Regions from separate parts of the Homo sapiens genome. Here all the other regions are linked to region 2. Evidence: promoter capture Hi-C in human tissues and cell types (Jung and others, 2019). All regions are on one chromosome and are shown on one strand. Each heading gives the region's core, a stretch centred on a gene start or on the middle of the fragment in contact. The rest is flanking DNA. Distances are from core to core; before and after follow the strand shown. Region 1 holds the start of LOC105372977 (a long non-coding RNA gene). Region 2 holds the start of MN1 (MN1 proto-oncogene, transcriptional regulator). Region 3 overlaps LOC107985534 (a long non-coding RNA gene). Region 4 has its middle 140 kb from the start of LINC01422. Region 5 holds the start of LOC284898 (a long non-coding RNA gene). Region 6 has its middle 54 kb from the start of LINC01638. Region 7 has its middle 100 kb from the start of LINC01638.

Region 1 (2,781 bases), core at 91-2,590, 610 kb after region 2:
GTGCGGGAGGCTATGTTGGTGGGTGAGGGATAGGTGGGAACTCACTGTACTTTCTTCACAATGTTGCTGTGAATTTGAAACTGTTCTAAAAAATAGTCTATTAGAGAAATAGAAGCTCTATGGATTTATGCAACCATCAATAACTGTAACACCTTTCCCTGCCCAAAACCGTTCCATGGTTTCTCAGTGTCCTCACAACAAAGCCATGCTCCTTAGCCTGGTCTCCAGGGCCCTGTGAGGTCTGGCTCTGCTCTTCTCCCCATCACCCCTTACTCAGCACTTCTGAACATCTCTGAGTCCTGGGATAAATTCATTCTCATTCCAGAGTCTTCACTCAGGCTGTTCTCTCTAGAAGCATTTTTCCCCTCACTTCACCATCACTGTTTGCCAAAAATATTCGTATATGCTCATCAAGTCTTGGCTTAGGTGTCACCTCTTCCAGGTATCCTTCCCTGATTGCCCCTGACTGAATCAGGTGGTTTCCCTGGGCTTCCACAGCACACACACCCCACCCACTTTGCTTCCCACAATTTGACACTAATCACCCTCATGTATAACCATGTTCACGTCTCTCTCCCCTGAAATACTATCAGCCCAATGGGGTCCAATAATTTCTTTACTATTAAATCCTGAGTGTAAGCACAGGGCCTAGCACATAAGGAGTGGTCAAAAAATGTGGATTGAATGGATGACTGAACCCAGTGGCTTCCACAGCCTTTCAGTCCCTCCCCTCTTAAATCCTGTTTCTCTGCACACAAAAGTCTTGATGGTGGCTGAGGCATCCTGGCAGATAGCTGACTTCATTCTCATAGTAGTCTGCTTCAGACCTATTTCTCTGTTAGGTGAACAAGATCCTGCAGGTCCCTGATCAGCACTGCAGACTTCCTGAAGCTGCAACATCTCAAGAGTGGTGAGGTGGAGTCTGTTCCTGGGGGCATTCTGCCATGTCTCCTGTAAGATAGAAGGGCAAGGGTTATGTAGCTCATGTCAGGAGCTCCTCACTGTGCTATCATAGCAAGGCCCCCAGGTGAGCTGGCACAGGTGGTAGAATCAAGAGTGAAGAGGAGCAGAAACAGACATGAGCTAAAAGCCTGTCCTGCCCCTTGTTCCATATTCCAGGTGCTCTCCAAGTCCTTGGCGAGCTGTTTAGGTAGCAGGCTCTATAATGGCTTTCAAAGTAACGGGTGAGTATGGGCCATTTACTGGGGAAACTACATCCCATGTCTTCTATTTGGAAGAGTACCTTCTGATCGGGCCACGATATCTGCAGAAAGACTTACCTTTGGAAAGCTCTTTTGCTTCCACTCCCTCATTACAGCCTTTCTATGATTCTGCAAGTGGTACAGAAAGTAAGGCTCAGAAACTAGAATGGGTTTCCCTGATGCCACCCAATGTATCAGTCCAGGCTCCATGCAGGAAACAGAATCCAGCCTAGGTATCTTGAGCAGGAAGGGATTTAACACAGGGAATCCAGGGCATGTAAGACCACTGGAAGCAGAGAAGGAGCAAGTTCTAGGTTAAGTCTCCTAGAATAACTCCCAGAATACACAGAGCAGAGGCACTTGGACAGTTACTGCCAGACTTATGCCAGATGCAAGGCGCTGTTGTATTTCTAACACCACTGCCTCTTGATGTCTAGGATGTGGGAGAATGAAGTGAGGTCCCCGTTGCAGGAAAACCTCCAGTTACTACCACCACACTATTTGCCGATAGCAATAGCCACAAACTGCTAGAGGATGGACTCACATTAGCTTCCTAAATCTCACATCAATACCTCTCATTGGCAGGAACAAATCTGCATCCAGAAGCCTAGCTTCAAGAGAGTCTAGAAATATCCTGCTTAGGCCAGGTGCGGTGGCTCACGCCTGTAATCCCAGCATTTTGGGAGGCTGACGTGAGTGGATCACCTGAGGCCAGGAGTTCGTGATCAGCCTGACCAACATGGCGAAACCCCGTTTCTACTAAAAAAAAAAATACAGAAATTAGCCAGGCATCGTGGTGAGCACCTGTAATCCCAGCTACTAGGGAGGCTGAGGCTGGAGAATTGCTTGAACCTGGGAGGCGGAGGTTGCAGTGAGCCGAGATTGTGCCACTGCACTCTAGCTTGGGCGACAGAGAGAGACGTCATAAAAAAAAAAGAAAAAAGAAAAGAAAAAAAGAAAGGAAAGAAAGAAAGGAAGGAAGGAAAGAAGGAAAGAAAGAGATATCCTGCTTAACTTTGCTTCCTCTCCAGGCCAAAGAAGGTGGGATGGAAGTTCAGTGAAGCTGCACAGATGACCCAGCACTTAAGAAACTGAATTCCAGCTCTGCCACTCTCTAATTGTGTGGTTTTTGGCAAGTGACAAAAATATGATTTGCTTTCTTGTCACTATGACATGACAATGCCAGCAGCCATCTCCTAGCAGGGCTGAAAGGGTTAAATAAGATGATGCTTGCACAATGCTCAGTGCAGAGCCTGGAATACCATTAAGCCCTCAACACATGGTAGGCAGTGAGACCATTATTATTATCACAGTTTTAGAAAAGACTAGCTCCTCTCATCTCCCTACCGACACCACCACCACCAAAAAAAAAAAAAAAAAAAAAAAAATCAGGTTACACAATCACACGAAGTATTTTCCTACCACTTCTAAGAACAAGGACTCCTTGGAGAAATATAATTCAGATGCAGAATTCGTGAATTACCAGGGCTTTTCTTTAGCTTTTGGGAGACAATGGGAAAGAATACTGAAAACCAAATGTATTGAGGGGAAAGCTTAGTATACATTTAATGCCCCTCTG
Region 2 (2,700 bases), core at 116-2,615:
ACTTTCTTTTGTGGGGGGGGAAAGGCATTTTCATACACCACGCTTAATTTTATTTAGATTTAATAGCGATATCAGGGGCACTTCAAAGAAAGTTCTTTTTTCGCCCTTCTCCTAAGAATGCGAATCTGCTAGCAAAATCGCCTCGTGCTATTTTATGGCAAGGAAAATTAAAGGCCTTCTCCCCCCTCCTTCCCTACACACACTTTAGGGAGGAACACACACACACACACACACGCATGCACAAACACACGCACGCAGGCGCGAGCACACGCACACAGGCGCACAGAATAAACACCTCTATCCTCCATCACCTCTAACTTCCAACTTCTAATTGCAAGATAGATTTCAGCCTCTGTGGGGATCAGGACGATCTAAACATTTTAACTAAGATTATTGGGATAAATATTTCATAAAGAGCAGGGCAGATATTAAATTACTCCTATTGATTTTAGTATCACAGCCCAATTCCATTCCTCGGCCTCTTCAGTTTAATTGATCTCTTAAGGAGGCCAACTTCGCACCCGCAGAGGGTCTGGGTCTTGGACCGGGTGGCCCAGGGCAAGGTGTGCGGCCCGGCGGGTGCGCCCTCTTCGTGCGTGTCTTCTCGGGGTTCCCAGCCGCCTCGCAAGTCGCTCCGGTTACTGGGCTCAACCGATGTGCTCCCCCATAAAGTGGCTGAGTGACTGTGACTCCTTGGAGCCCACGCCGGCCGGTGAGAACCGGGAACCCCAGGCAGTGGGGAAGGGGAACAATTGTGAACGCCCTAGTGACGGAGGAGTGAGCAAGCGCCCAGGTCTCTCGAGGAGAACCCTAACTTCGAGGTTCCCCGTCTGCTTTACCCTCCAAGAAAATCCCAGGGCCGGCTAACTTGGGCGCCGCTAGCGGAGAACGGAGTGTTCACCCCGGAGCCGAAGTGCAGTAGACACTTAGCGACTTTCCGTGGCGAGTCTAGGGTCTTTGCCTGGCGACCTCATTGTCTGAGCGCCCCGTACCGCTCACCGCCCACCTCCCCGCCCCCTGCCCACCCGGTGGGTCTCGCTCCAGTTGGGGGTGGGGAGTTGGGAACAGTGTGAATGGGAAGGGGGTGAACAAAGCCAAGCTCCCGCCATTCTCCTCCGCCTGCACCCTCTCCAGCTCGATGCGCCCGGAGGCCGGGGCGCGCCCCCAGCGCACTGACGCCGGACCCCGAGGAGAGGCGGGCGCAGGGGACCCCAGAGCTGGGGTAGTGCGGGTTCGTGGCGGGGGCTTCGGCAGCCAGGACCCCGGACCACCTTAAGAGCGAGCCCCGCCCCGAGCCCGGAACTTGGGCGGCGCTGATTGGTGCAAATGTAATGGCTGAAATTGATTGCTGAAATGCAAAACTTGTTGCTGCTTCTCCCGGCGCTGGGCGAGAGGCAGACACAGAGAGGGGAGCCGAGACCCTCGGAACGCCCCACGCAGAGCCCCCCCGCTAGTCGGGAGAGGGGTGCGCAGACCCCCCAGAGCTGCCCCCGCGCCCCCCTCCCCCCATTCCGGGCTCTGAGAGCGCAGCGGGAACGCCTTAGCCTGCTCGCCCGGCGTGGCCCCCCGACCCGCGTACGCCCCCCTCCCTCAGGTCCGAGAGGGACTCGCGAAGCACCTCAGCGCGGAGGCAGGGAACCGGAGCCTTGGAGCGACCCAACCCCTCGTCTCGCTGCCCTCCCGCGCCTGCAACGGTGCGCGGAGACTCCGGCGAACTCAGACACCCAACGGCGGAGAACAGAAGCGGCAGGCGGCGGACGTGGCCGCGAAGCTGCGCGCCGAACGCAGCGCACCCGCTGCCGAGCAGAGGAGCCGCGCCTTTCCCCGACCCTCGGCTCCAGCCCCCGGCGCCTGCCGCCTCGCAGCCCCTCTGCGTCCTCGGCTCGGGGGCCGGCACCGGCGATGCCGAGCGGAGCCTCCAGTCCTCCGACCCGCTGAAGAAGCAGCAGCCGCTCGCCCGGAGCCTACGGGGATTGTGCGAGCGGATCGTGCTCGGTGGAGGCTCGGGCTGCGGGGCGCGGGGACTCCGGGGGGCGGGGGGAGGGACCGCTCTGTCGGTGCCCGGCGCCAGCCGCGGCTTTGAAGGGTCTCCCTCCCCTGCCCTTAGCAGCTCTGCCACGGACTCCGGGAGGCTGCGGGCGGCGTCCTGAGGGCTCCCCAGCAGACCCAATCGGACTTGAGAAGGTGATCGCTCTGCTCTCCCAACCCCCTTCCCTCCCCATTCCCCCCACTTAACTTTTTGTCTCCGTTCATCCGCGGCTTCGTCCCCTCCCCGCAGACCCACCCGCGGCTGTGACAACCGCCCGGGGCATGGGCCCCCCAACACGGCTCCTAGAGGCCCCGCGGCCTCGCAAGATGTGAGAGGCCCTCCCCGGGCAGAATCGGAGCTTCAGGAGAGGAGCTAATACCCCGCCCCCCGTCCCTCACATCAGGCGGGGTGGAGGTGCGCGCTGAGCCCCCGCGGTGCTGAGCGTCCCGGAGCGCCCAATCCTGGGCTGGAACGAGTAGCTGGCCGGAGGCGCGCCGCGGAGAGCCGGCTGTCATGCCCTATTGATCCCCCTCTGCCCCCCGCCAAGTATGTTTGGGCTGGACCAATTCGAGCCCCAGGTCAACAGCAGGAACGCTGGCCAGGGCGAGAGGAACTTTAACGAGACCGGACTGAGCATGAACACCCACTTTAAGGCCCCGGCTTTCCACACT
Region 3 (2,700 bases), core at 63-2,562, 650 kb after region 2:
ATTGCTGTCCTTTCAACACACACGCACATGCACACACACGTACATGCGCACACACGCATGCATGCCTGATGGGCTTTTTTCTTCCTCTTAAAGTGATACAAAAGAAGCTCCTTTTCTTTATGTTTATCTTTTCCATTTCCTGCCCCTCCTAACCCAGGAAGTCTGGTTGCCGTTGTCTTATTCTGTGTGAGCCAATGTGTGCATGCATGCGTGTGTGTGCATGTGTGTGTGTGTGCTTGTGTGTGTGTGTGTTTCCTGGTCATTATTTTTCCTAACTGCATCCCCTTGAGTCGAAACTCAACCACGTTTGGAAAATAAATAGTGCTAGTGCTACATTTGTTAAAGCTGGAGCCCGTTGTCATGAGCAGCCTGGTTGTTGGGTACTCTGTGCGTGTGTCCAGAGAAATGGAATCATTCACCGGGCCAGGCTCTCTGGCTAAGCTAGGAGCAGTATTCTGTGACTCCCTTCAATGCCTGGTTTTCTGGGTTTCTTTGTTTGTTGGTTTGGTTAGATTGGGACACCCAGAAGGGCTGACATGTTTAGCCAAAGCCAGCATGCTTAGTGACGTTCGAGCATTTTAAGAAAATTACAAAAGCTCGCGTTTCCTGAGAACCTACTCTGAGCCAAGCACTATGCGACAGCTGCATCTACAGTGTCTGGATTGGATTTAGTTTTCTAGGTGTGATTCACCCAGCATGCCAGAGCCCTTGGATGTAGAATCTGGCATACAATAGGCAATTAGTATTAATAATAACAATAACTAGAACTCATTTGCATACTGTGTCCTGGGCAGTATGTAAATCTTACATGGTATTAATATTTTGTAGATTAATATTATATATTTAGTAATAATGTATCTGATTTAATGAAAAGTGTTTCCAACATACAGATAAAGATAGAGATAATATCATAAACACCAGCTTTTAAAAATCTTAACCTTATGGTCTCTTTGCTGCAGATTTTTTTCTTCTTGAACAAGACACTGCAGATAGAATCACCCTCTGTGTGCCAACCCTAATCTCAGTTTTCCCTCCTATCCTCCTACCACCAGCCTAAATTTGGAGTTTATTATGCCAATAGATGTTTTTAAATGTTTATTACACGATTATGTATCCATAAACATTATGTCGTGTTGCTCATGCAGGTTTTTAAACTTTATATAAATGGTATCTAGCCCTACATATCATTCTGCATCTAGCTTTTTTCTTCATACTTTACATAGATAATCACATTTAATCCTCGTAACAGCCTTAGGTGTCAGGCACCATTTTACGGATGAGGAAGGCGAGGTGCGGAAAGGTTAAAGCACAAACTCTAACATTAATTAAAGCTAAATATACATTTAAGCTGTGACTCAGCAATTTTATTCCTGAGTATATACCCCTCGAAAAACGAGTGTGCAGGGCTATTGAAGACTTGCACAAGAATGCCCATAAGAGCTTTATTCAAAAGAGCTAAAAAATAGAAACAACCAAAATGTGTATCAATGGGGAAATGGATAAACAAACTGTGATGAAGTCACACGGTGGAATATTATACAGCAAAGAAAAAGAATGAATGACGGCTGCACCCAATAGGAAAGATGCATTTCAGAAATGGAATGCTGAGTCAAAGAAGCCAGGCACAAAGGAAACATATTGTATGGTTCCACCTATATGAAGTTCAGAAATGGACAGAACTAGTTGATGATAACAGGGATCAGAGCAATGATTACTTCTGGGGGTAGAGGGCAAGATTGAGAAGGTCATGATGGCAGGGGCTGCTGGGTTATTGGAAATATTCTGCTCCTAATCGTAGTGCTGGTTACACAAGGTTATGTGTATTAGTCTGACCAGGCTACCATAACAAAATACCACAGACTGGGTAGGTTGGACAACCGAAGTTTACTTTCTTACAATTCTGGAAGCTGGAAGTGTAAGATCAGGGGCCAGCAGGTTTGGTCTCTCTTGAGATCTCTCTCCTTGGCTTGCAGGTGGCCGTCTTCTCGCCGTGTCCTCACATGGCCTTTCCTCTGTACACATGCATCCGTGCATGACATCAGTAAAATGGATTAGGGCCCACCCTAATGGCCTCATTTTACTTTACTTCTTTAAAGATCTTGTCTTCAAATACAGCCATTTTCCCAAGTTATGAAGGTCAGGACTTCAATAGATAACTTTTCAGGGGGTGGGAGGACACAATTTAGTCTACAACACTATGCACATGCAGAAATTCTTCAGGTTTTGCTTTTAGATTTATGCATTGTATTATATGTGTGCTGTGCCTCAGTGATGATGATGGTGACGATGACAAATCACTTGTGCAGATTCCTACATGTCACCCCAGCAGAGCCTATTTGAATCCAGACTGACTTCTGTATCTTGCACATGACCCTCACTCTGTGAATATTTACAAAAGGCGGGTGGAAGGGTTGGTAGAGTTACCTGCCAAAGGTCAGGCACTGATTAAGTGGAAAAGGTAATATTTGAACCTAGTTCTTCCTGACTCCACATCCAAACTGTTTTTTTTTTTTTGGTTTTTTTATCTGACCACTTCCAGGAACAAAGCCAGGGCTCTCTGGGCACCTGAGTATCCATTCTCTTTGTATCATCCATTCCATGTCCAGAACACATTCACATCCATGCTTATAGTTCCTCATTGCCTGAAGCCTGCTGGGTGGGGCATAGTATGAATACTTGCCCTCATCATCCCCATTTCAC
Region 4 (2,863 bases), core at 146-2,645, 760 kb after region 2:
GATCATATGTAAATCAAATGTCAGGGGAGAAAATTGTAGCAAGGGCTGTCAGGAAACAATTTACCAGTGGTTAAAGGCACAGCTCATGGCTGGGTGAATTGTGAACTTTGCAAATGGAAAACCAAGCTGGCTTTCACTGTGGGAGCTGATGAGACCTGAAGGAAGAAGAGTGGGGAGGCTGGGAACATATTGGATATTTTGTACCCTGCAAAAATCAAAACAAACAAACAAAAATCGCATTCACTTTTAAATATTTGCAGCCAGTTGCTATGGTGAGTTCCCACTGAAAGTGAATCTTGCTTGTTGAAGAATTTCACCACCATTTCTGTCCTGTTTATCTAGAAGGAGGATTTCATTATGTGTAAAAAGCAGTTGTTGGTAAAAAGTAGTGTGGTCTCTTTCTTCCCAGGCTTGTAGAAATTGTTCCAGAAATGGTTTCCATGTTGGAAAAAAAAACCATACTGTTACTGTTATCATTGTAATATCTTATGTCCCCAACATGTGTGACCTGTAATTCTATTCTTGGGAATTTACCTTTGTGAGTTGAGTATGTGTGTGTGTGTGCCATGCATGTGTGTAATGCTTACGCAGGGTACTTTGCAAGCAGGGTTCTGTCATTCTTCTCAGTATTTCAAGCAGGAGGGGATTTGATACATAGAGTCAGAAGCTTCCTTACTTGTTGGAAAGACAGGGAGAGCAAAGCTCAGAAAAGCTTCCAGGAAATGCGGAAGCTCAGGGACCGCAGGAAATATTCATGGGTAATGTTGGCTGCAGGTATCCAGGAAATAGATGATTCCCAGGCATCAATAGAAGCCACCTGCACAACCCTCGCCTTCCCTCTGCACCTGCTGCAGCTACCTCTATGCGACTATGGCTTCTCCACCTTTCAAATTGCATGTGAGGGCTACTTCTCCCAGACAACTTCTCTCTCCATAATTCATTTCACGAGAAGAATATTGCTTTAGAATGTAAATCGTGACTCCAGCACCAGAAATGAGACCTTGGCCAAGTCAGCTCACCTCTGTGTGCCTCAGTTTTCCCAGTTCTGAAATGAGCTTAATAGTGCCTTGTCACAACAGAGACAGGGCCAGGATGAAGTAACGTGATGTAGGTAAAATGTCTAAGTACTTGGCACGTAGTAGGGACCCGGTTAATGTCAATTGCTTTTTGTTCTCTTTCTTTTACCCTTTGTGTAACCCTCAGAGGTTCATTTAAAGCCAATTCTCTCCGTATAGATATTGCCAGGGTACATGGAGCGATTTCCCAGGGTTCCTGGTTCCCCTGGGAAAAGTCCTCCCTTAAAGAAAGCCATTAAGGATTTAATTTCTTATCATCTTCCATTCCAACTAGCCAGAGTGTTATGAATAATATCCTATTAGCTGGAGACATTCAAACAATCACCCGTTAACATGTTCTTACGGCGAAATGATGAAGCGTCCTCCGAAATCACGGTGCTTATCTGCGGCCCACTCAGCAGGCACTCCATCACTCCCACCAACGACACATCTTGTATTGCTGTCTTGGATTCCAACTAATCACTGAGGGGCGGGCAGCGGGGTGAGAGGAGAGCCAGAAGCCTCCAGGACTGCAAGCTCCTCCTGCAGCCTGGCCTGCCCTGTGGTACATAGTAATGTGCCTATCCCAGAGGGGATTGAAGCCACTTCTTGAGAAATACCATGAAACAAATCACAAACACAGAGTGATTTTGTAACACGAAAACAAGGTCAATAAAACCATGATTGTGAACCGCATCAAGACAAGCACAGACAAAAATGAAGAAGAGTTACGTAGAGGAGTTATTGAAAAAAAAGGCAAATGAAACAGCTAAAATAGAGGCATCAACTTTCACGAGTTAGAGGAGCTCTTAGAGACTGGCTACTGCAGTTTTTAATTCCCTGCCCCAGCCCCTAGTAGTGTGCCCTAGAGGCTTAGTCCAGAGAGATGCCCCATACAGAGCATTCACCGCCACATAGGTTGGGGAAAAAAAAAAAAAGAAAACACCGAATATCTAAGTTCTTCTTGTTGCTTTGCAATGCACATCTCATGCTAAGGGTCAACCTACCTTATGGGAAAGACACCCATTTACTTTTTTTTTTTTGAGACAGAGTCTCGCTCTGTCGCCCAGGCTGGAGTGCAGTGGTGCCATCTCTGCTCACTGCAAGCTCCACCTCCCAGGTTCATGCCATTCTCCTGCCTCAGCCTCCCAAGTAGCTGGGACTACAGGCGCCCGCCACCATACCCAGCTAAATTTTTTTTGTATTTTTAGTAGAGACGGGGTTTCACCGTGTTAGCCAGGATGGACACCCATTTACTTTTATCAGTGCAAGGCTTACTAACCTATTGAACCACAGAATGTCTTTTTGTCCCCACATACACCAAAACATATTCCTTGGTAGTGACGGATCTTTCTACTAGCCAGTGAGCATAGTTTTCTTCTTTATTTAGTCTCTCTTGATGAATATATATATCTGTGTGTGAATATATACATATATATATATATTTTAATTTTTATACTGGTCAGAGAGCAAATGGAAGTGTGATGCATATTGCACAAAATGTAGCTCTACCCCAAGGAAAGAGGAAAACAAGCTAATAGATTTGGTGTTCCTACTATGTGCTAAGCATTTCAGATGCATTGTCCTGCTTACCTCTCACAATAACCCTATGAAGCACGCTCCGTTCTTCCCCCTTACTTAACCCATTGTTTCTCAGTGACAAAAATGAGGCCAGAACAACTAGCTAAAGAGTCTGACCCCGGGCCAGTGAGAGCCCACATCTGGATTCTGAGTCCTGGCCCAGAGCACCTTTCCCTGTGATACCATGCTCCTTTGTTCTTTGGGATGCCAGGGACCTGTTTCTGGCC
Region 5 (2,700 bases), core at 181-2,680, 740 kb after region 2:
ATAGTGAGCTATGGAAAGTTTCAGCAGCAGAGCACAGAATCAGGTTGGCTTTTGGGAATTTTAGAATGGTGGATTGGCTGGGTTGAGACCAGAGGCAAGGAGCCCAGGAGGAGACTGGGTAACAGCCCAGGAGAGGAGGGATAGTACCCACACTGGGGCAATGTGGGGAGGGGGATAAATTATCCCAATCTTGGAATTATGGAATCAGAGAATTTTACAGCTGAAAGTAACCTGGGACCTTTAAGTTGCCTCCACCCCTTTTCACAAAAGCTGGACCTTAGAGAATGGGGGTGACGCCATCCTGTCCAGTCTTACAGCAGGTGAGTTTAGGACTAGGGACTGAAATCAAGATCTTTATATTCTTAATCCTTAATCTCACTTCATAACCTCACTCTGTTTCCTAATCCCCACAACTTGACTAATAATAATTATTATTATTATTACTATAATATCTAATAACTGAGTCTTTTCCATTTGCTGGGCTCTGTGCTGAGCACATTAAGTGTAAAATCTCATTAAATCCTCCCAACATTCTGAAGGATGAGAACTCCCCATTTTACAAATAAGAAACCTGAGGCTCAAGAGGTGAAGCAATTTGAATTTGAACCTCAGGATCCTCGTGGGGATCATAGCAGCAGCTCTCGTGTAGAACCGCAGTAAAGGCTAAATGAATAAGGCATACATGTGCCTAGCACTGTGCCTAGCATGTTGAAAGGTCTTAGCAAATGACAGTGACAATGGTGATGATGATGACAATGACCAAGGACAAAAATGGTGGAGAGAGGTAGATCCGTACCTGGGCCTTGACTCCACTGTGTGACTTTTGGCAAAGCACCTAATTCTCTGGGGTTCAATTTCCCCCGTCTGTCAAATGAAAACAGTACTCTAGGGCCATGGTTCTCAACGTGTGTTGCCTGGGCTGGCAGCATTAGCCGTCACCAGGGAGCTTGTTGGAGATGCAAATTCTCGAGCCCTCCCTGAATGGACTAATTCTGGGACTCTGGGAGTGGGATCCAGTAATCTGTGTTTCACAAGCCCTCCTGGTAAGTCTGATGCATGTTCAAGTTTGAGAACCTCTGGTCTAGATTGCTAATTTTGCATTTTTTGAAATGACATCAATACTTCCTTCTATCAAATTCATGAAAAGGCAGGCACAGGAAGCAGATCAGAGCTGCAGCATTAAGGGTGAGGCAGCCACCAGGACCCACGGTTCTGTTCACTCTCCCCATCCTTGTCCCCCTGCTTGGAGGCTCCGCAGGGCCAGGTGTGAAGGCCAAGGTGATGCTGTAGCCTCTCTGCTCTGCATTAATGCCTCCTGCTAGCCAGAGCCCATGCTCCACAACAGCCTCCCTCCCTCCCACTCAGCCTCCCTTCCTGTTTACACATTCTGTAAAGTATGAATTTGTTGTGGCCTCATGAAACCTGGTCTATTTCTTTCCTTATTTTTTTTTTAAAGAGGCTTGAGACTGTAATTCGGTTAACTATTTCCCAGAGCCCCGGTTTTGTGGCTACAGCACAGCACGAGGCAGAGGAACGGAGACAGGTCCTCGGAAGCCTCTTTCCAGAAAATCTAATTTCATCATTGAGAAATCTTCTGTCTTAAACAGCCTCCACCACCGCCATAAATTTACATATTCTATATGCCGCCGGAACGGAGTGGGCCCTATTTGCATAATGCTGCTGGAGGGGCTCACGCTCCTCTTGAACCTGAATGTAGCAGGAGCGAGGAAGCAATTATTAAGCTGTAGACGTTGGCAGGGAGAGAGCCCTCAGATGGATTTCGACTCCAAACCTCATTCGCCAGGGCTGCTCATTACCGAAGGCCTGGATCCCAGGCTGAAGGTGGATCCCAGGGCTGGGAAAAATCAGTGTGAATTGCTTTCTCCAGGTTATGTCTGCAGCCAGGCCGAGGCCAGATATGGGTGAGTACCTTTGGTTTTCCAACATTGATCATTGGAACAATCGTCTCTCTGCTCCCAAGGTGGCAATTTGTTTCTTGGACAGTGTTGTCACTTTGCCTGTGCCACACATTCCTGCCCCTTTCCCTCACACACCTCCAAGTACCTACAAGACAGGTCAGCCAGGCTTTGTTCACTTCTTGCCAGCAATCTAGTGTAAGCCTCTCAGAAATGCTTAATTAACAGAAAGTGGTGTTTAACAATGTCCCAGCTGGAAAATGGCAAGTGGAAACAGGAATTCTCTCATGCCTCGGTGGTCCTGCTTAAAATCTACCCTTCACCATCCATACTCATGCTGGCTAGGAAGTTGGGCGTCTTTCCCTCTGTGGGATCTCTGATGGGGCAATCAAGTATTTTGGGGCTCAGGTTCTCAGCCCTGGGGTCATTTGGTGTTCCAGGATCCATAGGTCACTCTCTACAGTTTCTGGCCCTTCCAGGGCTGTGGGCTTAGCCTCCAAGTTACTTTATGTCCTGCCACTCGCAACCTCAGTAGCCCATGGGTGCAAATGGCCACCTTTGGTTCCATAGTGACCATCTTGGATTTTACTCTGTAAGGCGCCATCTTGGTGTTTACTCTGTAGGGTGCCATCTTGGTTTTTATTCCATCTTGGATGTAAATGGCCTCCTATATGACTGATGGTGTTCAAAGAACAGGTCCTGAGCCTAGGGCAGTTTTTTGGTGGAACTTTAAGCCCAGCCCTTCCTGAGAGTTTTTAAACCAGGTGAATTCACGAACCACTCA
Region 6 (2,870 bases), core at 86-2,585, 630 kb after region 2:
AGCGCTGCACACTTACAAATTACCGCAGCAAAATGGATTGCCTTGACAAAATGTAATGTTTTGTGACAGAGCCCAAATATGCATTTCATTCTTGAGAAGCAGACTCAAGGAACTCGTTGGAAATATTAAATTAAGCAGTGTAACAGCTGAGATAATTGGGTTTTCTGCCCTGTTGCCTGTGATTTTGTGTGGCGTTTGAGGCGGTTGGGCAGTTCTGTTTGACTGGGGAATGGGAGAGGCCCCTGGGAAGCTCTTGGAAAGTGGAGGTTGGGTGTGGTTCAACCTTATGTTGAGATGGGAGAGACCCTGAGCACCACCAATCCTCTGGGTCCTCAAATCAAAATCTCCCAGCTAAAAATGATTGCAGAGGCCATGTGGTTTGATGCCTGCCCCCATTTCATGGATGAAGAAACTGAGTCCTTAGGGAGATGGCTTAGCAAGATAATGGCAGAGCTGAGACATAAACTGCTGACTTTGAAAAGCTTTTTCCACAATATCATCCCTCCTCTTTATTATGGTCCTGCAACCGCAGGGCTTTGAGCCATTTTGCTTGTAATGCGCCCCAAAGATCCTGGGTTCTGGGATAGATAGACACATTGCAGGTGACAGTGCAGCCTCTCCTTCACTGGGGGAACCTTCTGCAAGTCTTGGCTGCTCGGAGCCTCAGTTTCCCTCTGTAAAATGGGGGTCAGCATGTTTGCATTGGAGGGAATGCAATGAGATTTTTAACAGGGCTGATTTGTAGATGAACCCCCTGTGGATATGGTTAAAGACGAAGATTTTGATTCAGCAGGTCTACAATGGGGCTGGAAATCCTGCATTTCTAACGGGCTCTGCAGGGATGTTGATGCTGCTGGGATCATCCTTCAAAGAGCAAGTTTATAACATATAGAACTGCTCAACCAGGGCTTGGTATGCAGTAGGCACTCTATCAATACACTCCCTTTATTCTCCTGTTATTCCTTCCAGGACTTTGTCCTAACCTACATTTCTGAAAACTCAGCCAGAAAGAAGATGGGAGGCAGGCAGCACGTCTGATGGGTCCCTTGGGAGCCATAAACATCCAATTCAACCTTGTGTGCTCCTGGTCCTCACCCGAAATGACCAGGCCAACTTTGTGGAAGGGGTGAGTCATGGCTGACAAGCTTTGCAGGCCTCCACAGCGGCACACTACAGAACTCAGCAGGGGAAATATTTCCACGTTTGCACATTTTCCAGCAGTTGGTCCAGGAATGCATGCCCAGTTAGCCTTGGCACACACTGGCCCAGCCCAGTACTGCCTCTCTGATGTCAAGGGAGTTTCTTTTTCAAGTCCAACTCAAAACACATTCCTGGACACCCAGAAATAAAGCTGGAAAATGGAGACCCTCTCTCTGTCTCTGGGCCACCCTCTGAGATGCCTTTCATCTTACAGCACTGACAAGATCATGTGGAAACTGATTCAGTCAAGTAGCCGCTGTGTGACCACAGCCAAGGCATCTCCCTTCTCTGAGCCTCAGTTTCCTCATCTATAAACTCTCAGCTGTGGAGTATGGAGCTTATGGATATGGATCCTGGAGTTTCCATCAGTTTCAATCCCAGCTCCATCACTTCCAAACTAGGTGAACTAGCTCTCCAATTCTCAGTTTCCTGATGTATCAATACAGGTTAACAGTAAAGTCTACCTCACAGCCCAGCTCTGGGAATTCAGCAAGATGAAAACTTATGTAATCTCAGCTCAGGGTTGGGCATAAGACAAGAGTTCAGCAAGTGCTATTATTATTTGCAAACATGAAAATTTATCTACCTACTGATTTACTGCTGGACTTTGATCTTGATTGGTGTCTACCCCAAATTGCTACTTCAATGTAATCAGCAGCTTTTATGGAGTCACTTAGGGATGATGATATTAACTTGCCAAAAGTTATTGGACGTTTATAAACCAGGCATTGTTCTCAATTCTTTACTTGTGTTATATGACAGATAATTCTCACAACAACTCTGAAAGATTGATTACGGTGAAAAATATAGTATTATTCTCTATTTTACCAATGAGGAAACTAAGGCACAGGAAGCTTAAATAACTTGCTAGAGGTCACACAGTTGAAGTATCAGTCAGGTATGGCCACAATAATGTTACATGACACGTGACCATAGACATCTTGGAGGAAAACAAGTGTTGACTTCTCCCTCATGCATGTAGGAGTTAATGGGGGTCTCCAAGACTGGTCTTGACTGAGCTCAGCCCCAGATCTTCTCCACTGATCTCCCATCCTCCTTGGACCTACAACTACTCATGGCAAAAGGCAAGGTCCCATGGGCCAGAGGAAACCACATGTTCAAGCCCAGAGTCAAGGGTTGGGGGAATATTTGTCCCCACACCTTGAAGCCCCAGCAAAGGTGTGAACATGTCATCTTCCTACACAGAAGTCAAGAACTGAGAGCATTAATTCAACATCCCACAGCTGATGGGGGATGGGGAGAGGAGTGAGGCAATTGACCCAGAGAGACTGATGGAAGAACTTGTTATCGTAACTGCTGTACCAGAAGTCTCTCTATCTCCTTAGAGTGTTGAGTAAACATGTGTAGAATGCTGCTCTCTGAAAACAGCTCTAGGTGGCTCAATCATGGCTTATGTAAGACTATTTGACATAATTTTATAGAAGATAAAATATTGGAATAATGTCCACTTTCCTTTGAGAAAGTCTAGGGAAGCAGTATTATTTATTTATCCATCCATGCATGAACCCATTAATACACCTACCATAAAATCCATACATCCATTTATCTATTCATCCACCTGTCCTAAAATCCATCTCTCTATCCATCTGTCCATCAACCTACCCACCTAGACATCTTTACATTTATCCATCCATCCATCCAACCATCCA
Region 7 (2,877 bases), core at 149-2,648, 680 kb after region 2:
AACAGCTGGGGCTGGGAGCAGGGAGGGCGGTGAGGGCCTCTCTCCAAAAGCCAGTGATTAATCTTGAAACTGGGACGCTTTCATTTTCCTGCAAACTGGAGTACCATGTAGAGAAAATCACAGCACACATGCCATGGGCAGGAGAGCACAGTGGGTATGAGTGTCTGACTCAGCCAGAGCCTGGTTCGAATCCTGACTGTGCCACTTCCAGGCTGTGTTACCCGGGGTAAGTTACCTGCCTTTCCTGAGCCTTTTCTATGCTCTCAGGGTTTCTTTGTAAGGTTTAAATTACATAATATCCATGAAAGGCTTTATGCAGTACTTTCAAAAGCATCCAATCTATACATACTAATTATCTCTGGGAACATGCCTCACTTCTAAAGAATGGCTTTGTTTTACATGATTGTAAAGTGCCTCAAGGCAGGGTGGAAGCTGCTCTGAAATCAGAATTGGAGGCCTGGGCTCCATTTATGTAACTTATTTGGAGACCTGGGGCAAGCTCCTTGAATTCCTTCTTAAAAATGCAAAGAAGAAACCAGTGGGATGAAGAGGATCACAGGCCAGAGCCTTGCAAGCATCAGACCTATTTCCTGTGAAGACCCCTCCTGGCATTATCAGTCCCATTTCTCAGATGCGCACACACACTGAGGCCCAGAGAAGTGAAGTTAGTTGTATGTGGCAGTGTGATGCCAGCAAGAGCTGGGGTTGCAACAATCGTGTCTGACCCCAGTCTCTGGGCCCTTTCTGCCTCCCTTTCTTCAGTCTTTCAATAATAATGATCGCAAAGGCTGGGCACGGTAGCTCACGCCTGTAGTCCCAACACTTTGTGAGGCCGAGGCGGGCAGATCACCTGAGGTCAGAAGTTCAAGACCTGCCTGGCCTACATGGTGAAACCACATCTCTACTAAAAATATTAAAATTAGCCAGGTGTGGTGGCAGGCGCTTGTAATCCCAGCTACTCGGGAGGCTGAGACAGGAGAATCGCTTGAACTCGGGAGGCGGAGGTTGCAGTGAGCTGAGATCGCGCCACTGCGCTCCAGCCTGGGTGACAAGAGTAAGACTTTGTTTCAAAAAAAATCACAAATAATAACTACCCCATATTTAGCACTTTCTCTGCATCGGGCACTACTTAAGGACTTTACACTGTCCACCCCTTTAATTCTCACCCCAAGCTTCTGAGGCAGGCTCTGTAATTCCCCATTTCCCAGATAAGGAAATTCAGGCTCAGCTCCTGAGAGGCAGAGTCAGGACTTGAACCCAGATCTGAGTCTGTGTCCCAAGGAGTTACCCCTCGCCCCCACCCAATTCATCCCCCCGCCTTTTTTTTTCTATCTCCCTTCATGACACGCACAGGTGTTAAAAGCAGCCCCAAACATACAAAATTAAAAAATCGAGGCAAGAAATAGTTGCCTTTCCCATCCTTTCCGCACACAGGAAAGGAAGGAGGAGAAAGCGTCCACAGAGGGAAAAGGTCCAGCTTCTCGTTCTTTGCCATCACACTGACTTTTTAAAAATTTAACCAGCCACCTTTTCTCACTTCCCCAGTCATCCCAGTTACTAACTACGACCAGAAGCTCAGGCCATAAATAAAGCGCACAAATTTCACAGATGCCCCGGGAAACTGGAGCCGGGAAATGGCTCAGCATATGTCTAAATGGTTAATTGACTTAATTGCTGTGAGTTGGGCGATTAGCTCACTTGATCCACCCCGGTGGCCACAAAACGTCCTTAATGGTGTTCAGTTTATTTGTATGTTAAGCTCCAGTTACTATTACGGGGAACTTTTCGATTGCTGATTACCTCGTAAATATATAATTGTAGTCACAGGAAAAAAGAAGCCAGGAGCCGCTCATGAAAGGCTTTTCAAGGAATGGTGCAAAGCACTATTCATTCACCCACTCGGCAATTGTTTATTGGACACCTATTATGTGCAAAGTCCTCTGTGAAGCCTTGGAGATAGAGTAGGGAATACATCAGGCAAAACCCCTGCCTTCGACTGGGCACAGTGGCTCACGTCTGTAATCCTAGCACTTCAGAAGGCAGAGGTGGGTGGATCACCTGAGGTCAGGAGTTCGAGACCAGCCTGGCCAACATGGGGAAACCCCATCTCTACTAAAAATACAAAAATTAGCCAGATGTGGTGGCTCACACCTGTAATCCCAGCTACTCTGGAGGCTGAGGCAGGAGAATCGCTTGAACCCAGGCGGTGGAGATTGCAGTGAGCCAAGATCATGCCACTGCATTACAGCCTGGGCCACAGAGTAACTCCGTCTCAAAAAAAAAAAAAAAAAAAGAAAATCCCTGCCTTCGTGTAAACACTCTGGAGCAAGAGGAGACAGGCAGGAAATAAGTAAATATCTATGTGTACATGAAATAATTTTACATAAGGACTACAAAGAAAATAAAACTGAGTGATGGGATGCAATGAGCCAGAAAGAGTTAGGCTTGGGCTAGGATGGTCAGAGAAGGTCCCTCTGGGGACTGGTATTTGGGCTAGACATGAATGAGAAGTAGGGATTGCCTCTGCAAGAGACGTGGGCACAGTGCTGGAGGTAGGGGGCCAGTGAGTTTGCATGAAGACCCTGAGATGGGAATGACTTTATCCTACCTGAGAAATGGGAGGGAGGCCGACACAGGACAAGAGAATGGAGATGAAGGCAGAGACCAAGCCCTGCAGTATCAGGAGCAAGAAGCTTGGATACATTTTTCTAAGTCCAGTGAAAAGGCATCCTGTGATTCTATTTATGTCTTCAAAGATCACTGTGCTGTTGAATGGAGTGTGGATTATTGGGGTGGGAGGAAGACGGGAAGCTGGGTGGTCAGTTAGAGAGCATCTTCAGCCACCCAGGGGAGAGAGGATGACTTGGACCAGGTTGT

What was found. The method cuts DNA at HindIII sites, captures the fragments that hold promoters and counts their contacts. A contact is called where the count stands out against the background at its distance.
Region 1: a contact is called between a fragment that was not itself captured here and the fragment with the promoter of MN1 in region 2, in 2 of the 25 tissues and cell types used here (dorsolateral prefrontal cortex and hippocampus).
Region 3: a fragment that was not itself captured here is called in contact with the fragment with the promoter of MN1 in region 2 in 3 of the 25 tissues and cell types used here (aorta, dorsolateral prefrontal cortex and mesendoderm cells).
Region 4: a contact is called between a fragment that was not itself captured here and the fragment with the promoter of MN1 in region 2, in 1 of the 25 tissues and cell types used here (dorsolateral prefrontal cortex).
Region 5: a contact is called between a fragment that was not itself captured here and the fragment with the promoter of MN1 in region 2, in 2 of the 25 tissues and cell types used here (dorsolateral prefrontal cortex and lymphoblastoid cells).
Region 6: a contact is called between a fragment that was not itself captured here and the fragment with the promoter of MN1 in region 2, in 4 of the 25 tissues and cell types used here (dorsolateral prefrontal cortex, mesenchymal stem cells, neural progenitor cells and 1 more).
Region 7: a fragment that was not itself captured here is called in contact with the fragment with the promoter of MN1 in region 2 in 2 of the 25 tissues and cell types used here (dorsolateral prefrontal cortex and mesenchymal stem cells).

What each region holds. Positions count from the first base shown.
Region 1 is chr22:27,187,034-27,189,814 of GRCh38, reverse strand. LOC105372977 (a long non-coding RNA gene) reads right to left here and starts at 2,295. Exons shown (of 3, transcript NR_171770.1): 1 at 2,218-2,295; 2 at 1,281-1,331; 3 at 600-951. The HindIII fragment of the contact is 4,365 bases long and covers 1-2,781 here.
Region 2 is chr22:27,800,421-27,803,120 of GRCh38, reverse strand. It overlaps MN1 (MN1 proto-oncogene, transcriptional regulator), which reads left to right and starts at 1,365. Exons shown (of 2, transcript NM_002430.3): 1 at 1,365-2,700. The coding sequence starts at 2,578. The HindIII fragment of the contact is 23,630 bases long and covers 1-2,700 here.
Region 3 is chr22:27,147,934-27,150,633 of GRCh38, reverse strand. It overlaps LOC107985534 (a long non-coding RNA gene), which reads right to left. Exons shown (of 3, transcript XR_001755607.2): 3 at 1,410-2,700. Among named protein-coding and RNA genes, the nearest start is that of LINC01638, 75 kb to the left of the region's middle. The HindIII fragment of the contact is 6,381 bases long and covers 1-2,700 here.
Region 4 is chr22:27,040,645-27,043,507 of GRCh38, reverse strand. No RefSeq gene overlaps it. Among named protein-coding and RNA genes, the nearest start is that of LINC01422, 140 kb to the right of the region's middle. The HindIII fragment of the contact is 3,673 bases long and covers 1-2,863 here.
Region 5 is chr22:27,059,331-27,062,030 of GRCh38, reverse strand. It overlaps LOC284898 (a long non-coding RNA gene), which reads left to right and starts at 793. Exons shown (of 4, transcript NR_164796.1): 1 at 793-1,043; 2 at 1,457-1,922. The HindIII fragment of the contact is 5,422 bases long and covers 1-2,700 here.
Region 6 is chr22:27,168,963-27,171,832 of GRCh38, reverse strand. No RefSeq gene overlaps it. Among named protein-coding and RNA genes, the nearest start is that of LINC01638, 54 kb to the left of the region's middle. RefSeq lists an enhancer at 464-1,663. The HindIII fragment of the contact is 4,126 bases long and covers 1-2,870 here.
Region 7 is chr22:27,121,592-27,124,468 of GRCh38, reverse strand. No RefSeq gene overlaps it. Among named protein-coding and RNA genes, the nearest start is that of LINC01638, 100 kb to the left of the region's middle. The HindIII fragment of the contact is 5,567 bases long and covers 1-2,877 here.